Linked DNA regions of Homo sapiens: regions 2, 3, 4, 5, 6 and 7 are each linked to region 1. Evidence: promoter capture Hi-C in 16 types of primary human blood cells and fetal thymus (Javierre and others, 2016). All regions are on one chromosome and are shown on one strand. Each heading gives the region's core, a stretch centred on a gene start or on the middle of the fragment in contact. The rest is flanking DNA. Distances are from core to core; before and after follow the strand shown. Region 1 holds the start of KLHL15 (kelch like family member 15). Region 2 has its middle 56 kb from the start of SUPT20HL2. Region 3 has its middle 6.4 kb from the start of SAT1. Region 4 has its middle 75 kb from the start of SUPT20HL2. Region 5 has its middle 39 kb from the start of SAT1. Region 6 overlaps ZFX (zinc finger protein X-linked). Region 7 overlaps APOO (apolipoprotein O).

Evidence for each region. Contacts are between HindIII fragments. The CHiCAGO score rates a contact against its expected background, and 5 or more counts as called.
Region 2: a contact is called between a fragment that was not itself captured here and the fragment with the promoter of KLHL15 in region 1, in 1 of 17 cell types (activated CD4 T cells). The highest score is 7.1, in activated CD4 T cells.
Region 3: a fragment that was not itself captured here is called in contact with the fragment with the promoter of KLHL15 in region 1 in 11 of 17 cell types (activated CD4 T cells, naive CD4 T cells, naive CD8 T cells and 8 more); the score reaches 14.0 in activated CD4 T cells.
Region 4: a fragment that was not itself captured here is called in contact with the fragment with the promoter of KLHL15 in region 1 in 8 of 17 cell types (activated CD4 T cells, naive CD8 T cells, naive B cells and 5 more); the score reaches 8.2 in activated CD4 T cells.
Region 5: a fragment that was not itself captured here is called in contact with the fragment with the promoter of KLHL15 in region 1 in 1 of 17 cell types (monocytes); the score reaches 5.3 in monocytes.
Region 6: a fragment that was not itself captured here is called in contact with the fragment with the promoter of KLHL15 in region 1 in 6 of 17 cell types (activated CD4 T cells, non-activated CD4 T cells, naive CD8 T cells and 3 more); the score reaches 7.1 in activated CD4 T cells.
Region 7: a contact is called between a fragment that was not itself captured here and the fragment with the promoter of KLHL15 in region 1, in 2 of 17 cell types (neutrophils and activated CD4 T cells). The highest score is 5.9, in neutrophils.

Annotation. Positions count from the first base shown.
Region 1 is chrX:24,025,793-24,028,758 of GRCh38, forward strand. KLHL15 (kelch like family member 15) reads right to left here and starts at 1,394. Exons shown (of 4, transcript NM_030624.3): 1 at 1,348-1,394. RefSeq lists enhancers at 1-262, 263-766, 1,974-2,473 and a silencer at 1-95. The HindIII fragment of the contact is 3,234 bases long and covers 1,018-2,966 here.
Region 2 is chrX:24,256,096-24,259,061 of GRCh38, forward strand. No RefSeq gene overlaps it. Among named protein-coding and RNA genes, the nearest start is that of SUPT20HL2, 56 kb to the right of the region's middle. The HindIII fragment of the contact is 3,091 bases long and covers 1-2,966 here.
Region 3 is chrX:23,788,116-23,791,081 of GRCh38, forward strand. No RefSeq gene overlaps it. Among named protein-coding and RNA genes, the nearest start is that of SAT1, 6.4 kb to the left of the region's middle. The HindIII fragment of the contact is 7,227 bases long and covers 1-2,966 here.
Region 4 is chrX:24,237,935-24,240,900 of GRCh38, forward strand. No RefSeq gene overlaps it. Among named protein-coding and RNA genes, the nearest start is that of SUPT20HL2, 75 kb to the right of the region's middle. The HindIII fragment of the contact is 1,458 bases long and covers 847-2,304 here.
Region 5 is chrX:23,820,565-23,823,530 of GRCh38, forward strand. No RefSeq gene overlaps it. Among named protein-coding and RNA genes, the nearest start is that of SAT1, 39 kb to the left of the region's middle. The HindIII fragment of the contact is 3,324 bases long and covers 1-2,966 here.
Region 6 is chrX:24,196,288-24,199,253 of GRCh38, forward strand. All of the region lies in intron 5 of ZFX (zinc finger protein X-linked), which reads left to right. Among named protein-coding and RNA genes, the nearest start is that of ZFX, 48 kb to the left of the region's middle. The HindIII fragment of the contact is 8,157 bases long and covers 1-2,966 here.
Region 7 is chrX:23,870,545-23,873,510 of GRCh38, forward strand. All of the region lies in intron 4 of APOO (apolipoprotein O), which reads right to left. Among named protein-coding and RNA genes, the nearest start is that of APOO, 36 kb to the right of the region's middle. The HindIII fragment of the contact is 5,355 bases long and covers 1-2,966 here.

The sequences.
Region 1 (2,966 bases), core at 144-2,643:
CAGCGGTTTCCCACCGAGGAAAACAGGCGGCCGGGCGTCGCGGCCCTGGACTGGGCCCGACGCAGCTTCCCCCGCGGCGCCGCCGTCGGGGCTGAGGACACTCAGCTGTCCTCGTCCCCTTGCAGCGGTCTCTCTCCGCCTGCACGAGCGATGGGCCCTGAGCCACTGCGGTGCGCCCACCCTCGACAAGTTGAGGGCTAGGAAGCCAGGAAAGTGTCTTTTTGCATCTTGGCCACGGTGGGGGTGGGGGAATCGGGGACAACGTGGAGGGAGCTTTTCCATAGCTACCTGTTATAAAAGTGACTAGATCTGCGCCAAATGACATCATTTTTTGTAAGGCAACTTGCAGTGGACTATTGCGTCACTGTCCACTTGGCTTACTGCACAACAATTACACGTTTCAGAAATCGATTTCCCAAGGGTGGGAAAATTCATAAAAAATTGCATGTCTGCACCACCCGGAGATAATGCCGGATTTAAAAAAGCTGTCTCTACTTGCGTCAAAATAATCAAGAACGAACATTCAGAGGGCAGTGATTTTTGTTGTTCGTTTTTTATAGAATTCTAGCTAGTACTTTTTAAATATTACCTTTTCTTGACAAGAATATAAAACTAGACTATAGGACTGTTTTGTAAATTTATTATGGCATCTCTTTCTGGGAAAAGTGTAGATGACGGAAATACACAGTTGGAAGCCCGTGGATCTACAATTAACCTTAAATTAGGGCATCCATTGCCCATAGCAGATCCTAAACTGAGGTATTTCGGCTTCCCCCACCCCCACCCCCCGCCGCCATTTTCTCTCTAGACCAATATCCCGATGAACTTTCCGTGAGAGGTGTCGCTAAAAGCGATAATTATCTCTTTCTAGCAAACTTGAACATACCATCTTTCCCAAGAGGCCAAAATAGCACACGGTGTACTGTTTTGCTGAAGTAGACTACTTCGTGGGAGAGATAACACAATCACTTCAATCTTTTGGAAATACGCTTCCTTATTCCGATTTAAACTATAACAAGCTTTAAAAAAACTGTAAGACACTGAAATTCCCAAGTTGTTCACACTTTCTTTCCATCTTTTCCAATAGCTCCTTTAAGATATTTCTGTTCATTATTTAAAAATCCCTGCTTGCCATATTTGTATCTATTACTACATGACAAATTACCCCAGAATTTCACATTAAAACAAATTTTTAAAATTAAATCATAAAATAAACTTTAAAAATGCATACATTCCACTTCTGAATATTTAAATGTTCATGCATTATTCCCGAACATCTAAACGCTGAGTTTGGATTTTTGTACATTAACTAACATTTTAAGCTATACATTACTATGTGGCACTGACCTGTCTAAAGAGAGGCTTCTGTTCTTGATTCAAGCAAGAGTTGAAACGTTTCTGCGCTCTTTGTACCAGGTATAAATGTAGTGAGTGTATGTCATAAGCCATTGTGTGATCACCGTGCTTCCCGTCCCTCCTTATTTTGACATTGCAAGGTCTCGTGGAATTTCAAATGTGCTTTTTTGGATATTTATGTAGTTTTAAAACTGGGCTGTGTCTTTCAATCAATCTATACGTTTACTATATGAACCCCTCCCCAAGTTATCTTCAATCAATGATGCCTCTTTCACTCTTATTTCTTATTTTTATGTTATTATTATTATTTTTTTTTTGAGACAGTCTCACTCTCGGCCAGGCTGGAGGGCAGAGGCATGATCTCAGCTCACTGCAGCCTTGACCTCCCGGGCTCAAGCAATCCTTCCACCTCAGCCTCCCGAATAGCTAGGACCACAGACGTGCCCCACCATGCTCGGCTAACTTTTCTTTTCTTGTTTTTGTTTGTTTGTTTGTTTTGTTTTTGTTTGCTTGTTTTTTTCTGAGATGGAGTCTGTCGCTCAGGCTGGGGTGCAGTGGATCTCGGCTGACTGCAACCTCCGCCTCCCGGGTTCAAGCGATTATCCTGCCTCAGCCTCCCGAGTAGCTGGGATTACAGGCGCTCGCCACCGTGCCCAGCTAACTTTTGTATTTTTAGTAGAGACGGGGTTTCACTGTGTTGGCTAGGCTGGTCTCAAACCCCCGACCTCATGATCGCCCGCCTTGGCCTCCCAAAGTGCTGGGATTACAAGCGTGAGCCACTGCACTCCAGCTCAGGCAACAGAGCAAAAACACCGTCTCAAAAAAAAAAAAGAAAAGAAAATATATTTTAACTTTCCCCACCAATTTCTGGACTGTAATGGGAGTTGTTAAATACCTTGAGAGTATCCTTTCACACTGGTAGAGTCCCACAGAGGTAGATGGAAGCTGTCTTTTCTTAGCCCTCTAGCCTAAGTATTTGAGAATACACATTCCTCAATAGCTATTTATTTAGCAGCTAGCGAGGTCGGAAGCATGCTAGAAGCCTGGGCCTGGGAGTGCTGGTGGAGTTGGAATGAGGTTCTTCCCCAGGGGTTCTGAGGATTTAGGATACTGCATACCCTCCTCCTCCCTCCTGTTTTTGCTTTTTAAGAAATTGAGGCCAGGCGTGGTGGCTCACGCCTGTAATTCCAGCACTTTGGGAGGCCGAGGCGGAAGGATCATTAGAGGTCAGGAGTTGGAAACCAGCCTGACGAACATAGTGAAACCCCGTCTCTATTAAAAATACAAAAAATTAGCTGGCATGGTGGTGCGGGCCTGCGGTCCCAGCTACTCAGGAGGCTGAGGTAGGAGTATGGCTTGAGCCCAGGAGGCAGAGGTTGCAGTGAGTCGAGATTGCACCACTGCACTCCAGCCTGGACAACGGAACTAGACGCTGTCTCAAAAAAAAAAAAAAGAAAAGAAAAGTTGAGGCTTTTCAGAAATTCCCAGTCTGTGGTAGTTGTCTTGGTAATCACTTTTCTTTTTACTTTTTTTTTTTTTCTTTTTTTTGAGACAGAGTCTCCCTCTATCATCCAGGCTGGAGTGCAGTGGCGTGATTGGCTCACTGCAAC
Region 2 (2,966 bases), core at 173-2,672, 230 kb after region 1:
TCATAGGAACACTGTGGCTGCAGTGTGAGCCCGGACCTCCTAGCAGCAAGGGTCACCATCCTCCTGACGTGAAGGGTGAAGGTCTTAGTTTAACTGATAGAATCTACTAACTACTTTTAAACAGCAAAGGAATTTTATTTCTACTTTTTTTTTTTTTTTTTTAGACAGAGTTTCGCTTTTGTTGCCCAGGCTGGAGTGTAGTGGCACGATTTTGGCTCACTGCAACCTCCGCCTCCCAGGTTCAAGCGATTCTTCTGCCTCAGCCTCCCGAGTAGCTGGGATTACAGGCATGTGCCACCACACCCAGCTAATTTTTGTATTTTTAGTAGAGATGGGCTTTCTCCATGTTGGTCAGGCTGGTCTTGAACTCCCGACCTCAGGTGATCCGCCTGCCTCGGCCTCCCAAAGTGCTGGGATTACAGGCACGAGCCACTGCGCCCGGCCTATTTCTACTTTTTACTGAGGAATGGAATAAAGTACTCAAAGAGAGTTAATACATTATACACCTTAACTTTTACATGTGTATACACTTGTGTAATCACCACCTGGATCAAAATATAGATGATCCTCCTCAGCCTTCCAGAAGTTCTTTGTGCCTCTTCCCAGTATGAATCCCCTCTTCCCACTACAAGTAACCATTTCCTCTGATTTCTATCATCATCGATTAGTTTTCCTGTTTTTGAACATTATATACATGGAATTACACCATACGTATGTGTCTGACTTCCTTTGCTGAACATATAGTTAGGAGATTCACCCTTGTTGTGTATATAAGTTGTCCTTTTGTATTGCAGTGTAATGTTCTATTGGATGAATAGATCACATATTCCTTCTCCTATTGACAGACATTTGGTTCTTTTCCAGTTTTTAGTTATGCTGAATAAAACTTCTAGGAACATTCTCATTCATGTCTTTTGGTATACATATGCATTTATTTCTCTTAGGTGCAAACCTAGGAAAGAGATTGTTGGGCCATAGACCAGGCATGTATTTAGCTTTAGTAGATACAGTTAAATAATGTTTCCACAGTGGTTGTACCAATTTATATTCCCATCAGCAATGTATGAAAGTTCCAGTTGCTCCACATCCTTGCCAATACCTAGTATTATGAGCCTTTTTATTTTTAGCCATTCTGGGGATTTGTAGAGGTATCTCATGGTTTTAATTTGCATTTTCCTGATGAGTAGTGACGTTGATCACTGGGACAGATGAGATTTTCCTAAAGAAATTCTCAACAATGTCTCCCATTCCACATGACCTTATAATGTAACTTTAGCATTCTTCCTATGGAGAGGTGGCATCTGTGTTCCCTCCCCTTGAATCTTGTGACTATGGTGGAAATGGTAACATGTGATTTCTGAGGCTAGGTCTTAAGAGGCATTACCTAGTTTTTTGAGACACCCCTTTGGAGCCCAGAGCTTCCATACAAGTAGTTAAACCTGACGTCACTATGCTATGACAAAGCCCAAACAAGCTCATACAGAGAGATCATGGGAAGAGCCCTTGAGGCTACATGAGAAGAAAAAGATTTCCAGCCAGCCCCCCGCTGCTGCAATCCCCCACTGGTCCAGCTCTAACTACCATTTGACTACAACTGCATGAATCACACTAAGCCAGACCCTCCCAGCTAATACAGTCCTCAATACTTGAATGTTGCTTTAAGCCAGTAATTCTCAACTGGGGGAGATTTTGCACCGCGCTGCACCCCGCCCCGGGATGTGTGGCAATGCCTGGAGATATTGTCATAACTTGGAGGTGGGTGCATGGTGGTACTTGCTTCCAGTGGGTGGAGACCAGGGGTGCTGCTAAACATCCTGCAGGGACACAGGACAGCCTCCAGGACAAAGAATTATCTGGTCCCAAATGCCAACTGTGCTGAGATCGAGAAACCCTACTTAAACTACATAATCCACTAAGTTTTAGGTTGATTTGTAATGTAGCAAAAGTACTAGAACAATCATGCAGGCAGAGAGGGAGTTTATTTTTATTTATTTTTGAGACAGAGTTTTGCTCTTGTCACCCAGGCTGGAGTGCAGTGGCACGATCTCGGCTCACTGCAACCTCCGCCTCCTGGGTTCAAGCGATTCTCCCGCCTCAGCCTCCCAAGTAGCTGAGATTACAGGCACCTGTTACCACACCCGGCTAATTTTTGTATTTTTAGTAGAGACAGGGTTTCACCATGCTGGCCAGGCTGGTCTCAAATTCCTGACCTCAGATGATCCGCCCACCTTGGCCTCCCAAAGTGCTGGGATTATAGGCATGAGCCACTGCGCCTGGCCCAAGAGGGAGTTTATTAAAGAAGATTAGTTCACGGGCTAGGCGCGGTGGCTCACACCTGTAAGCCCAGCACTTTGGGAGGCTGAGGTGGGCAGATCACCTGAGGTCAGGAGTTTGAGACCAGCCTGGCCAACATGGTGGAACCCCATCTGTACTAAAAATACAAAAAATTAGCCAGACGTGGTTGCGGGTGCCTGTAGTCCCAGCTACTCGGGAGGCTGAGGCAGGAGAATCGCTTGGACCCAGGAGGCGGAGGTTGCAGTGAGCCGAGTTCGTGCCACTGAGTTCCAGCCTGGGCAACAGAATGAGAATCTGTCTCAAACAAACAAACAAAGAAAATTAGTTCACAGATCTCTGAGAGGGCCGGAGTGTTGGACTTAAATGTTACTCAGCCTGGAGTACTGCTCAAACCGCATCACTGGCTGTCCAGTGAAGACCACTGGATGTGGACCCACAGCTTGCACCTGTGATACTGAGAACTGGATTCCAGAACCTCTGGATTCTGGATGCCGTTGCCACCCTCACCAGAAAGTAGGTTCCATGTGTTTCCTGCTTCTTCACATTGCTCACTTTGTAATCAGTCCGATTTTGAGATGGCTGATGGATGAGCCCTGGGTCGTGTGTGAACTGTCTGCAAAGGAAGCCGAGAAAGCAAGTTTTCTGGCTTCTACCAAGGAGGCAGGACTAAC
Region 3 (2,966 bases), core at 214-2,713, 240 kb before region 1:
ATAAATTAACATCTCATTTGGAGGGTGAATTTGTAGTCCTGTGTTAATACAACGGATTTTTAGAGCAGAGAAACAATAGCCCTTAAAACTGCCAGGGGGTAAAGAAGTAAACAAGTGCTTTCTTAAGGACTGAAATGAAAAAGAAAAAGACCATTTCCCCCTAGATATGTGAACTCCTTTCATTATTCATGACATTGGCCCAAATTCCTAAACCGACTAATTTCCACAATAATGAAAACAGTAGTTGATAAGAACCACTGTAGACTAATGTCCAAGATAAATGTTTTCCAAAAGAAGTCAGATACCTGAAAACAATGCTCTGTATCTCTCTGAGTTCTCCAGCAAATCAGTACTGAGCTCCTCAGTCAAAGGTAATGTTGTCCTGCAAGCCTTTGTATCAGTGTCTGTTATGGCTTCCTAGATTAGAAGGCAGCCACATATAAAAATGTAGCCCTGTATTATATTTAATACAGGAGGGCTTTGGGATTTATTGGTGGCTCAGAGAGCATGCCATGAAAATGGGCTTACAGAGTCAATGATCAACCAGGGGCCCTATTAGGCAGGCAAGTAACTACATAAGAGAAACTCTGGCAAAAATGAAAGGGTAACTAAACACAAAGAGCCTTGTGGAGAAGTAAGATATTTTGCAAATTGTGTTTTGGAAAGTGAGCCTCTTAGAGGAAAACAACTACATGCTGACTGTGGTTAAATATAGGAATAAATTAAATTAACCACCAAGTTACAATATAACTCTTTGTTTCCTCATCTTTCTTAGAACTTAGCCTTAAAGGCCCAGTGTTGTGAAGATGAAGGCTTTTATGAAGTTTTGTATCCACTTTAAAGAAGCCCCTTAAGTGTAAATTTTATTTATTTTAATTTTTATTTGTTTTTAGTTGTTTTCTTTTTTTTTTTTTTCTTGAGACAGGTTCTCACTCCATTGCCCAGGCTGGAGTGCAGTGGTGCAATCACAATTTACTGCAACCTCGACCTTCTGGGCTCCAGCAATCCTCCCACCTCAGCATCCCAAGTAGCTAGACCACAGGAACGCACCACCACGCCCAGCTTTTCTTTTTTTTTTTTTTAATTTTTTGTAGAGATGAGGTCTTGCTACATCACCCAGGCTGGTCTCCAACTCCTGGCCTCAAATGATCCTCCCCCCTCAGCCTCCCAAAGAGCTGGGATTACAGGCATGAGCCTGCGCCCAGCCAGCTGTAAAATTTAGAAGCTGAAACGCCAACTGGGAGCAGTGGCTCACGCCTGTAATCCCAACACTTTGGGAGGCCAAGGCGGGCAGATCACGAGGTCAGGAGTTCGAGACCAGCATGGCCAATATAGTGAAACCCTGTCTCTACTAAAAATACAAAAAATTAGCCCGGGGTGGTGGCAGGCCCCTGTAATCCCAGCTACTCAGGAGGCTGAGGCAGGAGAATCACTTGAACCCAGGAGGTGGAGGTTGCAGTTAGCAGAGATTGCACCATTGCACTCCAGCCTGGGCAACAGTGTGAGACTCTGTCTCAAAAAAAAAAAAAAAAAGAAGAAGCTGAAACACCACAGCATTAGCCCACTACTAGCTCAACTCAATTACAAAGAGACCTCTTTAAAAACTGAACTATAAAGCAAATCTATAAAGTTTGAAGTCACCAGGCAAGTAAGAAAACATGTTACGGGGAAATTATCTGAAAAGAAACAACAAACAATGATAAACATGGAAAACCAGAGTCCAAGATCATCAACCGCTTAGATTCCACACAGTAGTCTTTCTAGGGAAAGAAAGTAGAGTCTTTTTTACAGAAATGCTGAAGAAGCAATTCAGAAGAAACCTAATGATTTATTAATGCCTTCGACCCACTCTACCCCTTCCTGTGAGTCTCCTTTCCACTGGGGACCCAGCAGGGCCTAGAATGGATGATGCTCATCACGGTTCACTGAAGCAGGTGGCTGCTCACCAGCAACTGATGGAACTGCCAGGCCCTGGGAAACCAGCCACCTTCTCCTGCTAGGAGTGAAGCAACTTCCTCACTGACTGTGACAGCCATGGCCTTCCTCTGAGTCTGCAGGTGACCATGTCTGCTCCTAGAATTCTATTTCCTTGACTGGTGCCATGTTTGTTTGTTTGTTTGTTTGTTTTGAGACAGAGTTTCGCTTTTGTTGCTCAGGCTGGAGTGCAGTGGCGCGATCTCGGCTCACGTGAACCCGGGAGGTGGAGGTTGCAGTGAGCCGCGATCACGCCACTGCATTCCAGCCTGAGCGACAGGGCAAGATTACGTCTCAAAAAAAAAAAAAAAAAAGAAAAAGAAAAAAACTAGTGATAAGAGCTAACATTTATTAAGCACTAATCAGGAACCAGGCTTTCAGTTTAGCACTTTGTATACATTATTATCTCATCTAATTCTCACAACGACTGTATGAGATTGGTACAATTATAAGTTTCTTTTTACAATGAGAAACTAAACCTAAGAGAAGTTAAGTTGCCCAAGGCCACACAACTAGACCTGGGAATCAAGCTCCAAACCAATTTCTCAAACCCCTGGGGCTTCCTGCCATAGTCTCACAGGACCTCACAGTTTCTATAAGAATGATTGAATATGGTGTTTCTGTGTGATTCTACTGCAAAGAATAATCAGTATAAGCATTTTCTGGATAATCAAAAGCAGTGATTCTCAGTATGGGCTACACATTAGAATGGCCTAGAAAGCACTGTAAAAATACTAATGCCCCATCCTGAGAGAGATTTCTTTTTTTTTTTTTTTTGAGATGGAGTCTCACTCTGTCCCCCAGGCTGGAGTGTAGTGGCGTGATCTTGGCTCACTGCAAGCTCCGCCTCCCGGGTTCACGCCATTCTCCTGCCTCAGCCTCCCGAGTAGCTGGGACTACAGGCGCCCACCACCACACCTGGCTAATTTTTTGTATTTTTAGTAGAGACGAGGTTTCACCGTGTTAGCCAGGATGGTCTTGATCTCCTGACC
Region 4 (2,966 bases), core at 326-2,825, 210 kb after region 1:
TCAGCCAAGGAAACATACGAAGTTGGTTATTTCCTTCATCTTCTGTGCCATATGGAGTCTAAAGATCTTGGAAGGTTGGCCCTTATCCATTCAACTCATCTTATGTACCTGTGTCCGGTCCTTCAGTCAGTAGAGAGTGACCTCCTTGAACCATTTCCTTCCCATCTTTGTCCCTTTCCCCATATTCCTTAGTCTTTTTATCTGTTATCCTCTTTCATCTTCCTGTCTCCTCTTCTGTCATGGACTGTCAGTTACATTGTAGCCCATCCACTTTCCCTCTTGGATAGAGGTGAGGGGGAGAAACCTTTAGGGTCCTGAAGGTGGAAGTCGACAGTGGAAGAGTTCATCGTGATGCCGTGACTTGTGGGTGAAATAGTTATAAAGCAATCAGACATTTCTGTGAAGGAGAACTTCCTGTTGGTGTATATTTTGAACTTAATTATGCTGAAAGAGTTCGTGTCTCCTTCTCAACATTTAATTAGTTTTTTTTTTTTGAGATGGGGTCTCACTATATTAAGCCCAGGCTGTTTCAAACCCCTGGCCTCAAGTAATCCTCCCATCTTGGCCTCCCAAAATGCTGGGATTACAGGTGTGATCAGTTACGTTTTTAAAAAGCCCTCTTATCACCCCTAACTTGGGATGTGGCAGGCTCCTTGAGGTGGAGTGGAAAGAAAAAAAACACACAAAACTATCTCTCCATAAGCTGTTCCTTGTGTTGGTTGAGCTTGGTGCCTGTCTTTCGTGGCAATGGATTTCTTCAGGTGTCCTGTGGTTTTTGTCTGTGTGCTCCTTTTGCTGTGTGAGATCTTCTGCTTTTGCGGCTACGGATGCTGGCTCTGATGGAGAAGCTTGTTTTGAGGATTATGGGGTTGAGTGGAGTGGGGCTGCCTTTGTCACTTGGGGAATGGTGGCCCCGGGGGCAGTTTTAGGCAAAGAGTAAGCACAAGCCCTTAGAGAAAATGGGAGAGAGGAGAGGGGGCGAAGAGGGGGCTGAGCGGGGGCGGAGGTGGGAGGGTAGGGAAAGGGAGAGAAAGAGGGAGAGAAAGAGAGAGAATATTCCACATGTAGTCTTCAAATTAACCACCTGGAAGATTGTCCCATGACCCCTGCACACTCCATCTATTGCTCCCCAATTTTTCCAGTCTCCTTCCTCAGTTTCCTCTTGGGTTTGTTCTCACCTTCTGTTTTTCCTTCAAGAGTTCCTCAAATCTTTTGGTTTATAGTGTTTGGCTTTCTAGTGGTATTATACATAAATAATTAAAAAATTTTTTTCCTGTGATTTCAGTCATTTGGAAGGGATTTAGGTGCATGTGATCCATTTGAAATTTGTATCTAAATGCCAGGAGGCTGCCTTGGAAGGGCGCAAGCTCCCCACCGTGACAGGCTTCTGTGTTTAAGTAGAAGGAAGAAGGAGAATATTTAAGTATGTGACAGGGAATTACTCCACGTTGATGAATTTCAAAAAATGTTCACTGTGACCTGTAAGAAGAAATACATTTTACATAGATGTTCATTCATGATACAGGTAACTGAGACAAGAGTTTCATTAAACAATGTTTACCCTATGTGTAAGGCATCGTGAATTTTTTTTTTTTTTTTTTTTGAGATAGAGTCCCACTCTGTTGCCCAGGCTGGAGTGCAGTGGTACAGTCTCGGCTCACTACAGCCTCTGCCTCCCGGGTTCAAGCGACTCTCTTGCCTCAGCCTCCCGAGTAGCTGGGGACTATAGGCACCTGCCACTACACCAGGCTCATTTTTTTTATTTTTAATAGAGACGGTTTCACCATGTTGGCCAAGCTGGTCTTGAACTCCTGACCTCAGGTGATCCACCTGCCTCGGCCTCCCAAAGTGCTGGGATTAGGGATTACAGTCATGAGCCACCGCGCCCAGTCTGATTTTTTCTGAGTCAGGGTCTCCTCTGTCGCCCAGGCTGGAGTGCAGTTGGATAATTATAGCTCACTGCAGCCTCCGCCTCCCAGGCACAAATGATCCTCCTACCTCAGCCACCTCAGCCTCCTGAGTAGCTGGAATTACAGGTGTACACCATCATGCCTGGCTAATTTTTATATTTTTTTTGTAGAGACAAGGTTTCCCCATGTTGCCCAGGCTGGTCTCGAACTCTTGAGCTCAAGTGACCCACCCGCCTTGGCCTAAGTGCTGGGATTACAAGCATGAGACACTGTGCCTGGCCACATTGTGATTTTTCTATTGTATTTCATGAAGACATTCATTTATCTAAATATGGCACTAAAAGCACAAGAAACAAAAGAAAAAATAGATAAATTGAACTTCATCTAAATTAAAAGCTTGCATGTTTCAGGGGACATTATCAAGAAAGTGAAAAGATGGGGGAAAGTTTTGAAAATCATACATATGATGAGGGTTTAATATCCAAAAAATATAAAGAACTCCTACAACTCAAGTACAAGCAAACGACCCAATTTTTAAATGGGCAAAAGACTTAAATAGACATTTCTCCAAAGAAGACTTAGACATGGACCAAAAGCACATGAAAAGATGCTCAACGTCATTAGTCATTAGGTAAATGCAAATTAAAACCACAATGAGATGTTACTTCATACCCACCAGGATGGTTATTATAAAAAAATGGAAATAACAAGTGTTATGGGGATACAGAGAAATTGGAACCCTTGTATATTGCTGGTAGGAATGTAAAACGTTGCAGCTGCTGTGGAAAACAGTATGGTGGTTTTTAAAAAGTTAAACATAGAATTACCATATGATCCGGCCTGGCTCACACCTGTAATCCCAGCACTTTGGGAGGCCAAGGTGGGCAGATCATTTGAGGTCAGGAGTTCGAGACCAGCCTGGCCAACATGGTGAAACTGCGTCTCTACTAAAAATACAAAAATCAGCCGAGCGTGGCGGTGCATACCTGTAGTCCCAGCTACTTGGGAGGCTGAGGCAGGAGAATCGCTTGAACCCAGGAGGTGGAGATTGCAGTG
Region 5 (2,966 bases), core at 290-2,789, 210 kb before region 1:
CACCTGTTCTTATCTTTTTTATCCTAGTGGGTATGAAATGACACCTTGTGGTTTTCATGCGCATTTTTCTGATGACTAATGATGCTGAACAGCTTTTCATGGGTTTATTGGCCATTTGTATATCTTCTTTTTAAAAATGTCTGTCAGGCTGGGCACGGTGGCTCATGTCTGTAATCCCAGCACTTTGGGAGGCCGAGGTGGGCAGACTGCCTGAGCTCAGGAGTTCGCAACCAGCCTGGGCAACACGGTGAAACCCCACCTCTGCTGAAATACAAAAAATTAGCCAGGCATGGCGGTGTGCGCTAGTAGTCCCAGCTACTCAAGAGGCTGAGGCAGAACTGCTTAAACCCAGGAGGCAGAGGTTGCAGTGAGCTGAGATCGTGCTACTGCACTCCAGCCTGGGTGACAGAGCAAGACTCCATCTCAAAAAAAAAAAAAAAGAGTCTGTTCAAATCCTTTGTTTTATTTTTTGAGAGGGAGTCTCACTCTGTCGCCCAGGCTGGAGTACAGTGGCGTAATCTCGACTCACTGCAACCTCCGCCTCCTGGGTTCAAGTGATTCTCCTGCCTCAGCCTCCCGAGTAGCTGAGAGTACAGGCGTATGCCACCACACCCGGCTAATTTTTTTTTTGAGACAGTGTTTCGCTCTGTTGCCCAGGCTGGAGTGCAGTGGCACGATCTCAGCTCACTGCAACCTTCACCTCCCAGGGATTCTACTGCCTCAGTCTCCCCAATAACTGGGATTACAGGCGTGTGCCACCACGTTTGGCTAATTTTTGCATTTTTTGTAGAACAGGGTTTCACCATGTTGGTCAGGCTGGTCTTGAACTCCTGACCTCAAATGATCCACCCGCCTTGGCCTCCCAAAGTGCTGGGATTACAGGCGTGAACCACCACGCCTGGCCAATTTTTGTATTTTTAGTAGAGACGGGGTTTCACCATGTTGGCCAGGCTGGTCTTGAACTCCTGACCTCAGATGATCCACCCGCCTTGGCCTCCCAAAGTGCTGGGATTACAGGCTTGTGCCACCGCGCCTGGCCCTCTGCTCAGTTTTAATTGGGTTGTTTTCTTATTGTTGAGTTGTAAAAGTTCTTTAAATATTCTGTATATGCGAGCCTCTTATCAGATCTATGTACAAATATTTTCCTGTACTCCATGGGTTTTTTTCTTTATTACTTTTTTAATAGAAATGAGGTCTTGCTATGTTTCCCAGGTGGGTCTCGAACTCCTGGGCTCAAGCAATCCTCCCACCTCGGCCTCCCAAAGTGCTGGGATTACAGGTGTGAGCCACTGCATTCAGCTTGTTTTTTTAAAGAAAGGGTTTTATTGTCACCCAGGCTCATGGCCCACTGCAGCCTCAACCTCCTGGGCTCAAGCAATCCTCCATCAGCCTCCTGAGTAGCTGAGACTACAGGTGTGTGCTACCACGCCTGGCTAATTTTGATATTTTTTTGGTAGAGACAGGGTCTTGCTAAGCTGCCCAGGGTGGTTTCAAACTCCTGGGCTCAAGTGATCCACCTGCCTTGGCCTCCCTAAGTGCTGGGATTACAGGCATGAGCTACCACACCCAACTGCCTTTTTATTTTCTTGATGGTATAATTTATAGCACAAAAGTTTCTACATTCTGAGGTAGTCCAATTTATCTGTTTTGTCACCCGTGCTTTTGGTGTTGTATCTAAAAAACCACTGCCTAACCCAAGATCACGATTTACTCCTTTTCCAAGATTTATTCCTATGCTGTCTTCTGAAAGTCTAACAGATTTAGTTACGACATTTAGGTGTATGATTCCACACAGACTTCTAAAAGTCTCACCTATTTGGTAGTGCTTTCCCAGGGAAATATTTATGGCACCACTAAGAAACAAACAATTAAACTATTGTGTTTAAAACAAAATGTGCAATGTGTGCTCTTTAGCATTCTGATCTAGGCTGAGAACAATATTTGAAATGAGCCAGTGCTCTCTCTGTAGGACAAATAAATGCTTTCATAAAGACGTCACTTTTGAATGGAGTGCAGTTTATGACCTATTTACTTATGAACCAGCCCAAACCGCTTGCCTCCATAGCGTGAGGGAAGGAAGAAAGACTCTACTGTGAGAATCAGGAAAAAAACCCAATCACTAATTTGGTCTAAACAAGGGAGCTTAGAGTTTTCTGTGGCTTTCAAAAACTACTTTCTCTTTGCTTGAAGAAGATGAATAAAAACAGTTTTTTTAATGTCTTGTGACCTGGAAATATTTAATGTAAATATAATGGTCCTTTTATTTATGTTCTTCTAAAGCTGATGGCAAGATGGCATGACATAAAACAAACACCATCTTAACATGCTGTTTTCGGTGGTGGGTCCTCAAGATTTGCTTAAAATGACTCAAAGGACTCAACATACATGTTCTCATGCCTTAGGTTTATCCTAACAAAGGATTCATGACAGGACCAGCAAAGGAAAAAGACACAGCAGAGTCTGGAGAAATCCACACACAGGCTTCCCATGCTTTCTCCCTCCCAACCCGGGAGGGCACACGTTGAGCATGCTCCCTTCTCCAGCAGCAAAACTGAAGCCACACGTGTGCAATGCTTCTGCCCAGAGAAGCCTATCAGAGATTCACCGCCAAAGCCTTTTTTTGTTTTGTTTTGAGACAGAATCTCGCTCTGTCACCCAGGCTGAAGTGCAGTGGCATGATCACGGCTCACTACAGCCTCAAACTCCTGGGCTCAAGTGATTCTCCTGCCTTGGCCTCCTGAGTAGCTGAGACTGCAGGCGCGTGCCACCACACCTGGCTAATTTTTGTGTTTTTAGTAGAGATGGGGTTTCACCATGTTGGTCAGGCTGGTCTCAAACTCCTGGCCTCAAGTGATCCACCTGCCTCGGAAAGTGCTGGGACTACAGGCATGAGCTACCTTGCCCAGCCGGCACCAAAGGGTTTTATTGGAGTCTGGTCATGTAGGCATCTTCTGCCTAGCAATGAC
Region 6 (2,966 bases), core at 310-2,809, 170 kb after region 1:
TTTTTAGTAGAGACGGGGTTTCTCCATGTTGGTCAGGCTGGTCTCGAACTCCTCACCTCAGGTGATCCACCTTCCTTGGCCTCCCAAAGTGCTGGGATTACAGGCATGAGCCACTGCGCCCAGCCAATCCATGTATGTTCTATAACCATTAGCCTTCCAATAAAGTAGAAAATCAGTACTCAGTGCTTACATTATTTTGATTGTGAAAATATCATTTGCAGCATAACCATTGATCACTTTGATTACATTTTTGCATACAGCTTTTTTCCCCTAGAAATTTTAATTGTCTCCTTTCCCCCTTGTATTACCTTTTTTTTTCTTTTGGGAGACAGGATCTTGCTCTGTTGCCCAGGCTAGAGTGCAGTGGTGTGATCATGGCTCACTGCTGCAACCTTGGACTCCTGGGCTCAAACAGTCCTCCTGCCTCAGCCTCCTGTGGAGCTGGGACTGCAGGCATGTGCTACCACACCCAGCTAATTTATTTTATTTGTAGAGATGGGGTCTCACTATGTTGTCCAGGCTGGTCTCAAACTTCTCGCTTAAGTGATCCTCCCACCTTGGCCTCCCAAAGTGTTGGGATTACAGGTGTGAGCCACCATGTTTGGCTGTAGGTTGGTTTGTTTGTTTGTTTATGCATTGTATTTTCATGCATGGGAGCCCTTTGAATTTGGAGATTTCCTCTAATAGTAGCCACTAGCCACATATTTGGCTAAATAAAGTTGTTAAAATGAATTAAACATACAGTTCCTGCGTTGCACCAGTCACAGTTCAAGTACTCAATAGCTACATGTGGCTAGTGCAGAGCATTTCCTTCATCAAAGAAAGTTCTGTTGGTTAGCACTGATCTGCAGGCTCAGTGAAATTGCAAACAATATGATGTCTTTTTAAAAACTTGAGACAGGCCAGGTGTGGTGGCTTGTACCTGTAATCCCAGCGCTGTAGGAAATGGAAGTGGAAGGATTGCTTGAGGCCAGGAGTTCGAGGCCAGCCTGGGCAACACAGATCCCATCTCTACCAAAACAAAAACATTTATTTATCATATATTACAAGGCAATAGGGGCAGTTAGAGTAGAAATTGACAAAATTCAGAAAGAAGCTGAAGAGAAAAAAATATGATCAAGGTAAAAGCCACCAGAGAAGCAACAATAAGAAAAAATGTATCTTAGCATATAGCCAAGGACAGAGGGATTGGGCTTTAAGAAATCACAAAATGAAATTGTAAGAAAATAAAATTGTGAAAATGCTTATGGAGAAGGAGGATAGATATGGAGAAAGATAAAGGATACAAACACACATAAGTGAAATTCCAGAAGAGAACAACTAATGAACTAGAAAAATATTTATAATGGGAGATTTTTTTCCTGAGATAAAGATTAGGATCTTTCTTGTTCCAAGAAATTGTCAAAATGGTAAAACAAGCAAATCATAATCATACTGTTATTTAGTGAACTTTAAGGATCAAGAATTACAGGGACATCCACACACAAATGCTCAATGCTAGGAGACAGTGGAACAATGTCTGCAAAGTTCTGAGGAAATTGTAACCTAAGAGTTTTGTACTCAGCCAATTCATTCTTCAAGTAAAGGCCATGGACCAACATTTTCAAGTATTCAGGAATTCAGGGACTGTAGTACCCATTGGCCTTTCTTGACAGGGATGGGGGAACTATTTGGTATTGAATCTAGCAGATGAAAGGATCAATCAATAGAAAGAACCCTAGAATGGAGAAACTGATTTTAAAAAAACTAGAAATGAGCAGTGAATTCATTTAATATAAAACTAGCTATAAAATATTTGGGGGAGTGGAGAAGTCAAAATGTTAACTTCCACATCTTTCACATAGTGACAGTAGATGCTGGCTCTAAAACTTATTTGTGTATTATAGGCAAAATATGGATGCTTTTATAATATTTTTTCTTTTATTTATTTTTTGAAGTGGGGTTTCGCTTTGTTGCCCAGGCTAGAGTGCAGTGGCACGATCATGACTCACTGCAGCCTTGACCTCCTGGGCTGAAGTGATCCTCCTACCTCAGCCTCCCGAGCAGCTGGGACCACAGCCCCATACCACCATGCCCAGCTAATTTAAAAATTTTTTTAGAGATGGTCTCACTATATTACCCAGGCTGAAGCAATCCTCCCACCTTGGCCTCCCAAAGTGGTGTGATTATAGGCGTGAGCCACTGCACCTGGCTTTGTTTTTTTTTTTTTTTTTTAGAGGGTTAAGAACTAATATCTTAATGACCAAACATTTACTTGAAGATTAGCATTCATATATTTAACGAATGAATGTTGCTTGCTTACTCTATATGCTGGGCAGTATTGTAGGCACTTGGAATACATTAGTGAACAAAACACAGGGAAGTTTCTTTCCCTTATAGACATTACATTCTAGCAGAGGTACACAGATATAGGTGAGTAATACAGCATATTATAAGGTGATACGTACTTAGGGAGGTAAAAAGCAGTATAAGGAGGATTTGGGTTATAAGTATGGTCAGGGTTTTGCTGAGAAGGTAACATTTGAGCAGAGACTTATTTTTGAGACATCTGATAGACACCAAAGAGGAAATACATGTACAAATCTGAGTTATGGAGACAGGTCTAGAGTGGAGATGTAAATTTGGGAGTTGTTGGTACATAGATGAAATTTAAGCCATCAGACAGAAAGAGATAACCAAAGGAGTGATTGTAGACAAACTAAGACTAAGGACTAAGCCCTGGGGTTTGCAGCATTAGGCGGTAAGAGGAGGCTCCAGCAAAAGAGTGAGGAGGCATGGTCTTGGTTAGTGAGGTGAGAGGAAACCAAGAGGTTGGGTCAGGGGAGCCAAGTGAGGAAAGTAAATCACAGAGAGTGAGCATCTGTCAGATGCTGCCGCTGCAAGTCACACGAGGGCTGAGAATTGGTCACGAGTGACCTTGATGAACAGTTTTGGTGAAGTTATGGGCAAAGAATGACCTGATTGAA
Region 7 (2,966 bases), core at 312-2,811, 160 kb before region 1:
GGAGGCCAAGGTGGGAGGATTGCTTGAGTCCAGGAGTTCAAGAACAGCCTGGGCAACATGGCGAAACCCTGTCTCTACAAAAAATTAAAAAAAAAAATTAGCCAGGTGTGGTGATGCATGTCTGTGGTCCCAGCTACTTGGGAGGCTGAGGTGGGAGGATTGCTTGAGTCCAGGAAGTCAAGACTGCAATGAGCTATGATCATGCCACTACACTCCAGCCTAGGTGACTGAATGAGACCCTGTCTCCAAACAAAAACAAAAACAGGCCAGGCGCAGTGGTTCACGCCTGTAATCCCAGCACTTTGGGAGGCCGATGCAGGCAGATCACAAGGTCAGGAATTCGAGACCAGCTTGACCAACATGGTGAAACCCCGTCTCTACTAAAAATACAAAAATTAGCCAGGCGTGGTGGCGTGTGCCTGTAATCCCAGCTACTCAGGAGGCTGAGGCAGGAGAATCGCTTGAACCTGGGAGGCAGAGGTTGCAGTGAGCCGAGATCACACCATTGCACTCCAGCCTGGGCAACAGAGCGAGACTCTGTCTCAAAAAACAAAAAAACAAAAAAACAAAAATCACACTGCCAGGAGTTGATAAATACTGGATGTATTCCATCCTGGCTAACATGGTGAAACCCCAACTCTACTAAAAATACCAAAAAAAAAAAAAAAATTAGCCAGGTGTGGTGGCAGGCGCCTGTAGTCCCAGCTACTCGGGAGGCTGAGGCAGGAGAATGGCGTAAACCCAGGAGGCGGAGCTTGTAGTGAGCCGAGACCGCGCCACTGCACTCCAGCCTGTGCGACAGAGCAAGACTCCGTCTCAAAAAAAAAAAAAAAAAAATACTGGATGAATTAACAAATGAATTTTAGCTAGGTCATGACTTACACAAAGCCCTCATGTCTCCTTCTCAATCTCATCTTCAGCACTCCCTATCTACTTAGGGTTCCTCAAACATCCAATACCAAGTCACACCTCTAAGCCTGATCATGCTGGGCCCAGTGTGCAATGCCTGCTTCCAGCAGTCCCACCCCCACATTTTGGAGTGGCTAACACTGCTCCTTCAAGATTCACTTCAGAAGTCCTTCCCTGACTGCTCCCACCTCCTCGATTTCAATTAAACTAATCTCCTTCCTCTGTACCTTCAATAATGGTCTGTGATTATCTCTGTATTTGCACTAGTACTGAATAATATATTACACGCATCTCAGTGGTTGTGACCACTGTCTTAACCAATCTCAATTTTCGAGGCCTGGCAGAATGGTGACTTAAAAAATATATACAGAACTGAACTAATAAACTGGAAAACTCAGCAATTCTGTCCCCTAAGTAATACCAGATACACGCCAGTTTTCCTTTTCCTGGGTTCTTTGGGAAATGTGATCATTTTAAATACTACTATAGGACTTGTATTATGTTTGCATTAATTACTGTCTGGCCTGTTACTTATTTTGCCTTTAGCCTAGTTTTTACTTTCCATCCTCTAGTCTGGGTCATTTGAGGCAATTTTTTACTTCCCTTTATTTTTGCCTACTAGCCCAGTGTTGCTCAATTCTAGATGTGTACACAGAGCAGTTGACAGAGGGACACCCAGATGGCTCTGGTGAGCTGGGCCAAAGTGGGTAAATCACAAAGAAAGGGGAAAGAAGATATGTTTTAAGACTGTACGGAGTCTGGGCAAAAAAGTGAGACCCTGCCTCTACAAAAAGTGGAAAAAATGTGATGGCACATGCCTGTAATCCTAGCTACTCGGGAGGCTGAGCTGGAAGGATTGCTTGAGCCCAGGAGGTTGAGGCTGCAGTGAGCTATGATCACGCCACTGGATTCCAGCCTGGATGACAGAGAAAGATCCTGTCTCAGAAAAATTTAAACAAGAGACCTCTCAGCCACACATGGACAGATAAAAGACTATATCAGGAGTTCTCTAGTTTCCTCGGATAAAAATGAAGATAATAAGGTATCTGTCAGCTTGTTATGAGAATTTATATATATATATATATATATATAAAATTTTTGTGGGTACATAGTAGGTGTATATATTTACGGGGTAAATGAGGTATTTTGGTTCAGGCATACAATGCATAATAATCACATCAGGGTAAATGAAGTATCCTTTACCTCAAGCATTTATCATTTTTCTTTGTGTTACAAGCATCCCAATTATACTCTTTCAGTTTATTTACAATACCTAAAAGAGTATAGCTTTTTTAGTTATTTAAAATGTACAATAAGCTAGGCGCGGTGGCTCACACCTGTAATCCCAGCACTTTGGGGGGCTGAGGTGGGTGGATCGCCTGAGGTCAGGAGTTCTACACCAGCCTGACCAATATGGTGAAACCCGTCTCTACTAAAAATACAAAAAATAGGCTGGGTGTGGTGGCGTGTGCCTGCAGTCCTAGCTACTCGGGAGGCTGAGACAGGAGAATTGCTTGAACCTGGGAGGCAGAGGTTGCAGTGAGCCAAGATAGCACCACTGCACTCCAGCCTGGGCAACAGAGTGAGAATCTGTCTCAAAAAAATAAAAAATAAATAAAATAATAAAAAATAAAATGTATAATAAAGTATTATTGACTGCAGTCACCCTACTGTGCTATCAAATACTAGGTCTTATTCATTCTAACTATATTTTTGTACTCATTAACCATCCTCACTCCACCCCCAATAAATTGGTATTTGTAAAGCACTTAGAATAGTACCTGACATATAAGTCTTAAATAAGTGTTTATGAAATTAATAAAATTAAGATGTTACTTATTAACATGCCTTAATAATTTAAAGAACCAGTAGGGGGCCAGGTACGGTGGCTCACGCCTGTAATCCCAATATTTTGGGCCGAGGCGGGCAGATCACTTGAGGTCAGGAGTTTGAGACCAGCCCGGCTAACAAGGTGAAACCCTGTCTCTACTAAAAATACAAAAACTAGGTGGATGTGGTGGCACACGCTTGTAATCCTAGCTACTCGGGAAGCTAAG